Linked DNA regions of Homo sapiens: region 1 is linked to region 2. Evidence: promoter capture Hi-C in 16 types of primary human blood cells and fetal thymus (Javierre and others, 2016). All regions are on one chromosome and are shown on one strand. Each heading gives the region's core, a stretch centred on a gene start or on the middle of the fragment in contact. The rest is flanking DNA. Distances are from core to core; before and after follow the strand shown.

Region 1 (6,887 bases), core at 2,742-5,241, 320 kb before region 2:
TGGCCTCAAGAAGCAACCCTGAGCCCCTGGCGTGGTCGCAGAGGAGCAGCTCTACTGAGGTGCAGAAGCTCAGTGATAGAGAGTCTCTCAGTTAGAAAGAATTTCAGTCATCTAGGCCGGCATTCTACAGAGTCCATTAGCGAGGTGGAATCAAATTAGTGGGATGTCAACAGCAATAGAGAAAAACATAAAATAGAATGTCAGAGTGGAGCTTGTGTTTCAGTGATAAATCTATTCACATGTAGTGTTCCCTGGTCAAAATATGAAGTGTATTTCTTACAGAGCACTTTGGAATCTGAATCCCAGCACTTTGGGAGACTGAAGCGGGAGGATCAGTTGAGCCCAGGAGTTCAAGAAAAACATAGTGAGACCATGTCGCTACAAAAATAAAAATAAAAATTAGCTGAGTGTGGTGGTACACACCTGTACCACCTACTGGGTACACACCGGTCCCAGCTACTCAGCAGGCTGAGGTGGGAGGATCACTTGAGCCAGAGAGGTAGAAACTGCAGTGAGCCAAGATTGCACCACTGCATTCCAGCCTGGGTTTCAGAATGAGACCCTGTCTGGGGGCAGTGGAAGGCATTCCCAGGCCCTAACCCAGGCCTACTGAATCATGATGTGTGATTGAGGGGTGGAGCAAGAGAAGGAACTGCTAGGGAATCTCCATTTTATTAGCTCTCCACATGATTTTTATGTATACTCAATGCCTAACCACTGATATTGACATTTCTGAGCTTGAATTTCCTGATGTATGAGATGGAGATGATAGTACCACCTGGTTATTGTGAGGACCAAGTAGATAATTAATGCAAAGGTATTTTGCTAACTGTAAAAGTACTCTAGAGATTTGAGGTGTTTCCATCCCACAAAATCCTTCTCTCTGTGATGTTTTTAAGGAGGATAGCACCAGGAGAGTGGGGGAGTGAAGACTGCATTTAATGGGACCAGGAGAGTTAAATGGAAAAATATTTTCTTCTGTCTCCTTCCACCTTCTACCTTCTACCTTCTGTCCTGCAGATTTCCTGATCTGATCCCAATGGCAGTCCTATGGGGACGTGGTTAGCACAGACTCCCTGCCCTGTAACTGGTGGTGATGCATATTGCCAACATCAGTCTGATGCATTATTTTAACCGTTTCAAGCCCCCTCTGATATCGAAGTCCCTTTAGTGTAAATCTCTCACAGTCCTGAATGCTGAGCTTTTGGTCCTGGTGGGACTGTTAATTATCTACTCACTGTGGCGTTCACTGTGTATGCCACTGGGCAGAAGCTTCCCAGAATGTGTGTGAAATGGCTACACAACATATTTGGACAAGTGCACTAATATGGCCACTGGTGCAGAAAATTTGGGCCCTGAAGGCTTAAATCAGAGATGCACAGACTGAAGTCGAATTCCTGGAGGTGGTGCAAGGACTTTGCCTCCAAACTGCTTTTGGGGTGAACTTTAGAGGATAACAGGCTACCAAGCTGGGCCTCAGCCTCCTCATTCCTTCCGTTCCCTACCTGTCACTCTGCCTCTAAGTGCAGCTGCTCTTCCAAGAGGGAGACTGTACTTAGTTCTATGAGACAAACTAATAACCGAATGGATTCTCATGGAAATATGAAGCCAGAAGAAAGGGGGGAAGTGGGGCCAAATCCCCAAGGTGAAAAAGTGAGAAGTCTCAGCATTCAGCCAGTAGGGGTTGTTCCTGTCAACCCCTTTTATTGCTTCTGCCCCAGGATCAGTGAATTAGGAAGATGCCAGTGTGGAGACAAGCCAGCATGGAGCATGAGGGCTGGGCGTATGCTCCTAAGTAAGAAGTGGCCCGTCTTCCCTTCTGATTCTTCCTCCTGGTCCCCAGTGCCTGAGCCTTTGAGGCTATTCCCCTCCCAGACAGACATTGCTTTACTTCTGCCTTTGAATTGAAGCCCCATTCTTTTTGTAGTCCTCGTAGCCTCGATTTTAGGCTGATGGCTCCAGTAAGGGGTGGGGATGGGAGGTGTTGCAGGGGTTAGAAGGAAGGAAGGCTGTCTCTTCCATTATTCCCTATCATCTAGTGAGAATCTAATGGGAGGGGTGAGTTAGAATAGATGCCCATACAATAGGAGTCTGAGGGTGGTAGTCAGGGCAGGGACAGGGCACAGGGTAGAACCCTTGGAAGGAGTAAAGGGGCATATAGGGAAGGGGTTTAACGGCACAATTAGCTGAAGCTTGGCAAAGGAATAATGAGCTCTAACGAAGTAAGAGGAATTAGAATCAAAGCCCTGGTTCTGGGCAGGCTTCAGACTGTGGCTACAGCTAGAAAGCCTGAGTGATTGAATAGCACTGTGCTAATTACATTTTTTTCTTGTTTTCTTTCCTGTTCTCAACTCTCCTTTTCATCTTCTGCCATCTCTCTGCCCTAAACACCATTTTTCCTCTTTATTCCCCTTCTCTTCCTCCTTACCTCTGCTCTCACACATCCTTCGTCCCCTCTCACCAACCCTCTCCCATATTTCTCCCCCCTTCCTCCATGCCCTCCTGTTCTACTCCCTCCACCACCACCCTCCAAAGCTCTCTGGTGGATGTGAGCTGACAGTGGTCCTCCAGGACTTCAGTGCGGGCCACAGCAGTGAGCTGACCATCCAGGTGGGGCAGACGGTAGAGCTGCTGGAGCGGCCCAGCGAGCGGCCTGGTTGGTGTCTGGTCCGTACCACCGAACGGAGCCCGCCCTTGGAGGGTCTGGTCCCCAGCAGCGCCCTGTGCATCTCACACTCCCGAAGCAGCGTGGAGATGGACTGCTTCTTCCCCTTGGTGAAAGGTAGGAGAACAGAGCGGGTGGGAGGCACAGACCAAGGAGGCCATGAGCGCTGGCCTGACTCTAGCTGAAGACCACCATGGAAGTGACCTGTCTCACAGACCCATTTTTACCCTGTGGGGTTTCTTTGGGACCTGACTGTGAAGAGAATGGGTTGGGAACTTGGAGAGGAAGAGCTCCCGAGTAACTGTGTGTGACTTTGGGAAAGTCATTTAGCCTTCCTGAGTCAGTTTCATCTTGGAAATGAAGGTTGAATTAAGTAACCTCCAAGATCTCTTCCAGTTTTCCCATCATATCACACTACATTCGGGAAAGTCCTCTTCTACCTTTGGCCAAATATGGTTTAGACTCATCCTTTCTCCACTGACCCACTCCCGCTCCACAGCAACTTCTGGCTCTCTGACCCCCGACCAAGTACTCACATGCTGACCTGGAGACACCAGGCACACCCAGGGAGGAGCCACAGCTGAGTCAGATCTGATCCTTCCCTCAGCCCAGCCAGGCTTTGAGGTCCATGACTCCTTTATGTGCCTTCAACAGATAAAGTATTCTAGCCTTGGCTTTTATTGTATGTAAGCTCTGTGTTCCCTTCACATGCCTGTTTACTCACTTTTTCTCATGCCAGGGAGACTAAACTCCTCATGACAGTGTTTCTTTAGGGGTGGTCTCTGGATTAGTAATATCAGCATGCCCTGGGAACCTGTTAGAAATGCAGGTGCCAGCCTGGGCAACTTAGTGAGACCCTGTCTCTACAAAAATTTAAAAATGCAAGGCGGCACATACCTGTAGTCCCAGCTACTTGGGAGGCTGAGGCAGGAGAATCACTTGAACCCGAGAGGCTGAGGTTGCCATGAGGCTGCAGCAAGCCAAGATTGTGCCACTGCACTCCAGCCTGGGCAACAGAGCGAGACTCTGTCTCAAAAAAAAAAAAAAAAAAATTAAAAAAATTAGCTGGGCAAAATACAAAAATTAGCCGGGCATGGTGGCGCACGCCTGTAGTCCCAGCTACTCGGGAGGCTGAGGCAGGAGAATGGCGTGAACCCGGGAGGCGGAGCTTGCAGTGAGTCGAGATCGCGCCACCGCACTCCAGCCTGGGCGACAGAGCGAAACTCCGTCTCAAAAAAAAAAAAAAAAAAAAAAAAAAATTAGCTGGGCAAGGTGGTGTTCACTTGTAGTTCCAACTACTCAGGGCATGGTGAGGCAGGAGGATCACTTGAGCCCAGGAGTTTGAGGCTGCAGTGAGCTATGATTGCATCGCTGCGCTCCAACCTGGCTGACAGAGAAAGACCGCACCTCTAAAAATAAAAAATCAAAGTTAAAAGCCAGGTACAGTGGCTCACACCTGTAATCCCAACACTTTGGGAGGCTGGCTTGAGGCTAGGAGTTTGAGACCAGACTGGGCAACATAGTGAGACCCCCATCTCTACAAAACTAAAAAATTTTAGCCAGGCATGGTGGCACACACCCATAGTTCCAGCTACTCAGTGGGGGGCTGGGGCAGGAGGATCATTTGAGCCTGGGAAGACAAGATTACAGTAAACCATGCTTGCACCACTGCACTCCAGACTGGGTGACAGAGCAAGGTCCTGCCTCAAAAAGTGTTTTTAAATTTAATTTTAAAAAAGAAAGAAACGCAAATGATCAGAACCCCCACTCCTCCAGAGCCGGTGGGTCCCAACAGTCTGTATTTTAACAAGCCTTCCAGGTGGCTCTGATGCACATTTGAGTTTGAGATCCACTGACTTGTGAAGTCCAAGTGGCAGAGGCCTTGCAGCCAAGCATTTTACACTGAGGAAGCCAAAGCCAGGCCTTAGTTCTGGGCTTATTTTTGTAACTGGCCAGATAATCAGCAGCAGGCATGCCTTCTATGCAGACCTGTGCTAGATATTTCTAGGAGAGGAAGATGGGGACGAGGGTCAGCATGGAGACCTGCTGCAGGCTTCCTGATGGTTAACTGTGAACTCAGAACATATTTAAAACACTCCGGTGTCTGGAGTGCCATCTGGTCTACCTCCAAAGCCTGACTTCCTTTCCTCCACTAGATGGCAGCAGCAGGCTGAATTGTTTGTGCTGCATCCAGCCTTCCAGGGTTTTTTCCACCAGGAGAAAAATGTCAGCTAAGACCGACGTCCTAATTCTCCTCGTGCCCTCCACTCCCAATTTAATCATTGCCTGCTTTCCCCCCTGTCCTCTGAGGACTAAGGAGGGACTGTGTCAGGAAGTTGTGTGGGAATTTGAAATTGCAGGCACAAGAGGAAAATCAAGGAAACTCAGGAATCTGGTTCCGCTTGAAGTCTAGCCAAGAGGAGAAGAGGGTACACAGAAGGTAGATTGTGAGGGTAAAATGAGGTAATGGAGACAAAACACAGCAGTGCCTGGCATTCAATGCACTTTAGTTGTCATGATAAGTTTTTGCTATTATATCATTTGCCATAGATTATCCAGCAAAATAACTACACACTCCCACAAGTCCAGTTGAGAGACCCATCTGCAGAGACAAAATCAAGCACAGCAATTCATTTGCCGCAAAAGGCTAACGTTCCTTGGATCCCCAGGTGTGGGTCGTTTTCATCAGGAGGGACTCAGCTTCAAGGGAAGATGAGACTTCCTGACCTAGACCTGGCCTCCTAGCCTGAGGCTGGGTAAAATGTGCACTCCCTCCCTGCTGGGGCTGCCACATGTGCAACTTCGCAGGAGCAAACCCAAGGTGGAAAGCCAGAGAGCAGTGTCAGAGTCAATCTGTGATCCCGAAGTGGGAGGTGGAAGCATTCAGGGTAAGAATTGCACAGGACTGGGGGTTGTCTCGACTATAGGACAGATTAGTGGAGATTTAACTAAAAATAGGAGATGAAGACCAGGAATGGAAAATAGAGGCAAGAGACAAAGCTGGGAGGGAGGCTGTCATAGAACTTTCCAGCTAATTCTGCCAACCAGCATAGCTTCTTAAAGGTACCAGCAGTGCCTATCACCCATTTCTTTGGCTTTTTATTTCCAGGTTGGTTCCTGTTTCCCCAAGCTTAGGCCAATTATGCTGAGCTTTCAAATGGCATCCTGTGAGGTCTTACTATCTTCTCACCCATGTGAGCTCTGAATACAGAGGTCCCCGACTCCCAACAGTCAAGGACCTAAGTCGGCCAGGCGCAGTGGCTCACTCCTGTAATCCCAGCACTTTGGGAGGCTGAAGCAGGTGGATTGCTCAGGCTCAGGCGTTCGAGACCAGCCTGGGCAACATGGCGAAACCCTGTCTCTACAAAAAAAATTTAAAAATTAGCCAGGTGGGGTGGTGTGCACCTATATAGTCCCAGCTACTCAGGAGGCTGAGGTGGGAGGATCACCTGACCCTGGGAGGCTGAGGCTGCAGTGAGCCATGATCATACCACTGTGCTCCAGCCTGGGTTGCAGAGTGAAACCCTGTCTCAAAAAAAAAAAAAAAGGACCTAAGTCTGCATTCTCCATGGAGCACTCCTTATGCCCTTAACTAGACCCCATTTGAAAGTGTGTGCAGTTATGCACATAGCCCAGCCTCAAAACCCTTTCCCTGTCTCTCTGGGGTCTGCCCAGAGTGTTGGCCTTAGCTAAGACCCAATAAGCTATTCCTTCTCTTATTCCAGCTGGCTGCCTGCTTGGCAAACCGCCTTTTCTTCTCTCAGCAGTAATTTGTCTCCAGTGGGTGCTTTACCTTATAAGTTATGCACAACTAGATTGAGAATAAAATGTTCCTCTGGGGGTTGTGGAATAGGACAGAGTGGTCTCATCTGGTGTCAGGAGGTTGGAATCAATTCCTTTTTCAATTCCCATAAGAGAACTGGTCCTCTTAGCATTTGCAGAGAGCACCAAGTCAGCACTCTTGCAGGCTGTGTGAAGCAGGGACTATGTGTGAGGGCTAAGCACCTTGTGAGTGCTCAGGCCATGACTATCACCCCAGAAATGGGGACAAAAGAACCACAGGATGGTTCTTGATGATCCACTAGCACAGGGTTCCCAACGCTGGCTGCACATGAGAATCATCTGGGAGCTTTTCCAAATGACAATGCCCAGACCCCACCTAGAACAAATGGAATCAGAATCTCTGGATGGGGCCTGAGGGTCAGTATTTTTAAGTGTTCCA
Region 2 (6,785 bases), core at 3,813-6,312:
TGGTGAGTGCTAAGGACAAAAATTAAAGAAGAAAAGCAGATAAAAAGAACTCGGGATATAGGGAGGAGGTTGCAGCTTTAGCTGGGAGCGGCCAGGGAAAACTTGGCTGAGCAGGAGATGCTAGAAAAAGGGTTGCAGGGTGGAGGAAGCCGGTCATGCAGATATCTTGGAGGACAGTATTCCAGGCAGGGAGAAGGGCTGCCATGGGAGCATGGCTGGCACGCTGAAGGGACAGTGGGAGGCCCATGCTGCTGGAGCAAAGGATCGAAGGGAAAGTGGTGAAGGAAAGTCAGAGAAGTAGGTGGAGAGTTCGTGGAGCCTGGCAGGACTCTGGGAAACCATTCGAAGGTTTTAAGCAGAGAGATATGATCTGACTTGAGTTGGATCTCAGGATCACTCTGAGGGACAGTTGAGAATAACTAAAGAGAACAAGTTGCAGAAGTAGGTCCCAGCTCTACAAGAGACAACCAGCTCTGAAAATGTCTGGCTGGAGTTGGGGAGGGAATCCTATAAAGAGAGGGCAGGGTACCCCGCAGTGCCTTCAAAGCATCAGCCTTAGGGGATGAGTCAAGCCTGTCTTAGAGCAAACTTTTCACCATGAGGCCCGGGAAGTAAACCCTGCATTCAACGGAAGCAAGAAGCCTCAGAAACAAATGGGTGCCTCTAAATAAAGCATTCCTTTACATTTATAGAGGCCATTAATCCCATTCGAACCGGAAAGAAGGAAAACAAACCACGGCAGTCAGTTCTCCAAGGCCCTCGGCTCCAGCCAACTGGAAATACCTGTGAAAAGAGACCCTATCCCATTAACCCAGCTGCACACTGCCATGTGAAAGGGGCCCTATTATTTAAGTAGTTTGTAATTGTCCCACATTACTGATATCGTTAAAGCATCTCAGAATATTTCCATGGCCAGGCTGAATAAGAAAAAGTAGTTACCAGGCCACGCAGGCACAAAAGGCCTTTTGCCAAACTACTTAGATATTTTAATTCCCCGTTGCCTCAGTAGCTAAATAAGCATGGAGAACAAGCAGGCGGGGAATACTAATTAGAGCTAATTAGACCCTGCCCTCTTCTGCCTCAATCCCCTTTATAAAAAGCTCCCCCAACTCAAGGATGATGGAGTTAAAATGTAAATCCATAGGATAAACAGCAGTCTACAGACCAAACCCACTGTTTGTATTTCATTGTCCTGTCAGCTCTAAACCTGTGCCTGGTTACCTACAGAGAGCTGCAGACCCAGCCAAATTCCAACAACCCCATCACAGACCACAGGAAATGTGGTAGGGGGTTGGGGGTAGAGGAAGGGTGCTGCCAACATGAGTCCACTAAATAAAACAAAGGGCTTTCTTAGGATGTGCAGAGCATTCACTAGAAGAACATTCGATTGCTTTTTTAAAAAGAAATGAATGTGATAGCACACATAATTCCAGCGGTGTTGCAGGATCCTCTTTATAAGACGGTGTTCCTCTCTCTGTCTTAGCAAAGGCAGCGTGGAAAAGCCTCACCTCAGTGAGACCCCTGGTTTTGTGGGAAGACCACATCCTAGGATTCTGTCTGAAGGCTCTTGGCCATAAGATAATAAAAAGAGCAGGAGATAGCCCTTGGTGGGGACGGGAGGGGGTTGTCAGCCGGCCAGGGACTTGTTTGAAATGAGCCCCTGAAACCTAAGGTCAGTTTCCTGCTGGAAATCCGTACTGAGATGAAAGTGGGGTTAGAGCAACAGAGAGAGGCACTCAACCACTGGTCCAGGAACACCCAGGCAGGCATGGCCCTGAGGGTCATCTCTTTCTTTTCTCTGAGTAACTAGGTTTTTTTCTTTCAAATAATGTTCCTAGTGGCAAGACAGAAACACTCCCTGAATAAAGTACCTGTAGTGCTTCAAGAAAACAAAGAAGGGAAGGGAAGCAAAAAAAAAAAAGAAAAAAAAAAAGAATGTTGAAGTTAATTCAGCAACACTGAAAAACTAGGAGAAATGACACAGATGTGAGTCAACCTCTGCTAATCCTGAGAAGCTTCAGGGCCCTAAGAGGTAAGCAGCAAGTTCTGGAGGCCAGTGCCATGGCTTGCTCCACCACCACCACCACCAAAACCTGTAGTCAAAGAGATGGGCAGAGGCCAGCCGTGGTGGCTCACACCTGTAATCCTAGCATTTTGGGAGGCCGAGGCGGGCGGATCACCTGAGGTTGGGAGTTAGAGACCAGCCTGACCAACATGGTGAAACCCTGTCTCTACTAAAAATACAAAATTAGCCAGGCGTGGTGGTACATGCCTGTAATCCCAGTTACTCAGCAGGACAATCACTTGAACCTGAGAGGCAGAGGTTGTGGTGAGCTGAGATCATGCCACTGTACACCATCCTGGGCAACAAGAGTGAGACTCTGTCTCAAAAAAAAAGAAAAGAAAAGATAGGCAATGGGAAAACAGGACCCCAAAAGAGTTGCAAATGAACCACCATGCTCAGTGCTTTTCTCTTCCTTAAGCTGAGTCGGTAGGACAAAGGGCACTGGACCAAAAGCCATGGTCCCTGGTCCACCACTCCTGACCCAAGTAGAGGGGAAGGGCAAGTCACTTCCTTCCTGAGCCCATATGAGAAAATGGACATCACCGTGAAGATGTACGTGAACTCTGAAAAAGAGAAAGCAAGATGCAAGTGGAAAATAATGTATTTTTAGAAATTATTCGCAGCCAGGCGTGGTGGCTCATGCCTGTAATTGAAGCACTTTGGGAGGCCAAGGCAGTTAGATCACCTTAAGTGAGGAGTTCAAGACCAGCCCAGCCAACATGGTGAAACCCCATCTCTACTAAAAATACAAAAATTAGCCGGGCATGGTCGCAGCGCCTGTAATCATTGCTACTTGGGAGGCTAAGCCAGGAGAATTGCTTGAACCTGGGAGGTGGAGGTTGCAGTGAGCCGAGATGGCACCACTGCACTCCAGCCTGGGCTACAAGACTGAAACTCTGACTCAAAAAAAAAAAATTATTTGCAACTAGAAATTATTATTATAATTCTGTTTGTCAGAATTACAGAATGTCAAGCTGGAAAGGAACTTAAAAGCCATCTCCTTTGGCAGTTTCTGAACTTTTGGATTTCAAAGAAAACTAAGATTTAAAAACAAAACAAAAGAAACAAACAGAAAAAGAGAAGGGGAGCTTAACATAGGGTTGTCAGATTTTCTTATTTTGCCAAAATTAAAAACTACTAATATTATTAAGAAGTATTAAAAGAAAATGTTCCCACCAAAAAAAGAAAAAGTGCCTAATTTCAAACTAAAGGAAAGTCCTTGTGGAGCAGGGGAGCGTTGACAACAATACATTCCTGTGTGATGCAGGCTACATCTTCCTGCTCCTCGCTTTCCCTAGGGACCCATGAAAATATCCGTGATGGGCACTGGCTGCCGGATGGGTGTTTGGAATCCACTCATCTACTCTCCAAGCTCTGGAGTGATTATTTTCCCATTTAAAACAAAAACCAAAAACCTTGCTACAGTATTAAGTTTGAATTAGGGTCTGAACGAAGTTATTGTTTGCTCAGACCCCTCCTCCGCTCTTAAACCTAAACCTCCACTGCCTTCATGTAAATGAGACACCGTGGGGGAACAGTCCTCCCTTCGGGCAGCCAGGCAACCACTTGGCTCACAAGAGCAATCAAGTATCTCCGGCTTGAAAGTTAATAGAGCACTATTATTTCCTAAAAGAAAGGAGAAAATCCGCATCCCAAACAAGTGCATCCTTCCTCGAGGGCCTCCAAACTACCACGTCCAATCATCTCCCAACTCTGAAAAGTTAGAGCAGGTAACCGAGGGATCCTTGCAACGCTGCCAGCCCACCGCAGCGTCGGGCTAAGGCAATCTCCACAGCCCCTGTCCTCTGCTCCAGAATCCTCCACAGTTAGGGGAGTGTGAGGCTCCGAGCGTGTGCAAATCGCGGGATAAAGTCGGGCAGAAGGAATTTAATAGGGAAGTCCCAGGTGGGGCTGTGGTTTGGGACGCGGGTGCCCCCTCGGGTTTGCGGTGGCCTAGGCGAGGAGGAAGCAGGCGGGGGGCGGGGAGGGTGGGGGCTGCATCTTCAAAGGCAGGCGGCTAGCCTAGGCGCAGCGAACTCCAGGATTCGCTGTGGGCCCTGTGCACCCGCTGTTCCAGGAGGCGAGCCCTCCGGAGTGGAGGTGGCCCCGGGCTTTGGCTGGGGTTTCGAGACTCCCTTGCTTCTCCGGGAACAGGGCACCGACGGCATCCCCCCAGCAGCCCGCCCGCTCCCGGCCGGCCACAAGGACCGCTTTGTGCCCGCCAACGGAGAGCCCGGGCCCCAAGGCAGGGCTGGCGGCGGTCCTCCCCGTGCCCTGGGCGCGGGCCCTGGCGGGCTAGGTCAGCAGGCCGGCCAGCCTGTTTACACAGGAAGGGAAGCTCCTCCTCAGCCCGGGAGGGAACAGGAGACTCACGACAGCCCGGCGGGGCTGCGCGCGGGGAGCGCCCCGCGGGGCTGTCCCCCAGCGACTGGCCCACCAGGGAGTGCCCCGAAGGCGCCCTCCGCCCTCAGGCACCGCCTGCGCTCCCCGCCCCTCCGAGACGCCCGCCCGCGGCTGAGTGTGCGACAAAGTTTCTCTGGGCGCCGTGGGCGGCGCGGCTTACCTGCGAGCCGGGGCAGGAGCGCGCAGAGCCCCAGGAGGCAGGCGTACAGCGGCGCCGGGGCCCGCGGCATGGTGGGGCGCCTCCCTCAGCGGCGGCGCGGTCGCTGCACTCCGCGGGGGCCGGCGGCCGGGGCTGGGGCCGGAGCGCGGGGGCCGAGGGCCGGGGGCCGCAGCCGCATGCCCCGCGCGCAGCTCCGGCTCACGGCGCCCGCGCTGGCCCGCGCCCCGCCGCCACCATCCGTCCCGCAGCACTCACGGCCGAGTCCCGGGACCGCGGCTGCCCTGGCTGGCCGGCCGGGACTCCTAGTGTGTCGCCGCTCGGGACGGCCCCAGCGGGCTGCTCCGGGTAGGGGAGGGGCTGGCTCCGCTCGGCGGCCGCGACTTGGGCTCCGAGACGCGCCCAGCGCCGAGACTCCCCCGCGCGCCGGCACACTCTGCCCCTGGCCTCCGCCCCTTCCCTTCCTCCCTCCGGCCCGCCAGGCTCCACTTTCCTCCTCTCCTTTCTCCTCCCCTTCTCTCCCCTGCCAGGCCCTCGCCCGGCCGCCACACGGTCAGCTTACGGTGAGGCGGGGCGGGGCGAGCTCCGGGCCGGGCCAGCTCCGCCCTGTGCGGGGACCGGCCCGGGACGCGGAGGCCCTACGGGCCCAGGTGGAAGTCGCTTGCGACTCACTTGGGGCGTGGGGGGCTCGAAACCACTGAGTAGAGCCCGCTCCCGTTGCTTAGCCGCCCGTCGCCACGGGAAAGGGGCGGGGCACGCTGTATTAGGCGAGCCGAGATTACTTGGGCCAAAGGCGGTTGCTAGACTGCGAGAGGGAGAGCAGGTACGGGGGTCGTGCCGGTACCGCCTCATCCTCCCAAAGCCTCACTGCCGGCGGCCTGAGATGGGACGTAGACGCCCGCGCGTGGAACCGCAAAGCGACTTCTGGATGAGCAAGGGAGGGCGTGGTGGGGCGTGGAGGCACAAGTAAAACCTACATTTCTTTTTCTTTTCTTTTTTTTTTTTTTTTGAGACAGCGTCTTGCTCTCACTCAGGCTGGAGTGCACTGGCCCAGTCTTGGCTCACTGCAGCCTGGACCTCCTGGGCTCAAAGGTTCCTCCACCTTAGCCTCCTGAGTAACTGGGACTACAGGCGCGCGCCACCACACCCGGACAATTTTTACATGTTTTGTAGAGATGGGGGTCTCGCTGTGTTGCTCAGGTTAGTCTTGAACTCCTGGGCTCAAGCATTCCTCCTGTGTCTGCCTCCTAAAGTGCTGAGATTACAGGTGCGAGCCACCGTGCCCGGCCCACTTTTCACTTTTTAACTTTTGCACCTTTCAAGGATTTGAGACTGGCCAATATGCCGCTATATTTCGTTGTCCTTACTGATAATCTGTCAGTTTCCATGATCAAACTGATAGACTCAAAAACATATGCTCAGGCTTTCATCTTATCATTTACATATAAGCTGGATCTGAACTAGCCAATAAAGAGTGGGGTGGGGTCTTCCTCAGATGGTGCAGGAAAGGATGCCTTGGGCTTGGATTCGCTACAAGTGCGTTTAGAGTGGAGTGGTTGATAGGCAAGAGAAGAGGCGACATTCAGGTAGGGGAAAATAACGATAGAATACCTACCAAGTACAGAGAGCACACTGCCAGCCAGGCACTGTTCTAAGTCCTTTACCCATATTAACTCATTTCATCCTCCGACAACCCTACTGTTATCCAGTTGAGGAACCGAGGGACAGAGGGGTTAACTGCTGGAGGAAGTGACAGCTAGGATGCCTCGTTCAAAAGTGCAGCATGGCTTGGCTAAAACTGAAGCAGTAAGGGGGAAAGAACAAAGGGGTCTCACCTTTGCAGGCCAGGGACCTGGTGGAAGAATGGCTTGGAGGGCCCAGTGGAAAACTGTCCTAACTGCCCAGCTCAAGGAGTTTGGATGTTAACCTTTATTTCTTGGCCTCCTCCCAAACTCTAACAAGGTGGTGCCTCAATGCCTGAGGAAGTAAACTTCTTGAAGTACAATATAGTGTGCCTGGGGGCAAAGATGCAGCAGTCCATAGCAAGCTCCTTTATAGTATTTGTGAAAGGAAAATAAATCTCAGGGCCCCCAAATCACTAAGCCAGGAGAAAAATCAAGCTGGGAACCGTGTCAGGCAAACCTGCCTCCCATTTTATGC

Evidence for each region. The method cuts DNA at HindIII sites, captures the fragments that hold promoters and counts their contacts. A CHiCAGO score of 5 or more calls a contact.
Region 1: a fragment that was not itself captured here is called in contact with the fragment with the promoter of ITGB5 in region 2 in 1 of 17 cell types (endothelial precursors); the score reaches 5.9 in endothelial precursors.

Annotation. Positions count from the first base shown.
Region 1 is chr3:124,560,308-124,567,194 of GRCh38, forward strand. It overlaps KALRN (kalirin RhoGEF kinase), which reads left to right. Exons shown (of 60, transcript NM_001388419.1): 34 at 2,536-2,782. All of the region lies in intron 2 of LOC105374076 (a long non-coding RNA gene), which reads right to left. Among named protein-coding and RNA genes, the nearest start is that of UMPS, 170 kb to the right of the region's middle. RefSeq lists an enhancer at 4,635-4,929 and a silencer at 4,635-4,929. The HindIII fragment of the contact is 3,603 bases long and covers 2,191-5,793 here.
Region 2 is chr3:124,882,303-124,889,087 of GRCh38, forward strand. It overlaps ITGB5 (integrin subunit beta 5), which reads right to left and starts at 5,063. Exons shown (of 15, transcript NM_002213.5): 1 at 4,629-5,063. The coding sequence starts at 4,698. RefSeq lists silencers at 1,100-1,394, 4,452-4,541, 5,002-5,441 and enhancers at 2,903-3,787, 5,556-6,438, 6,439-6,785. The HindIII fragment of the contact is 6,734 bases long and covers 2,014-6,785 here.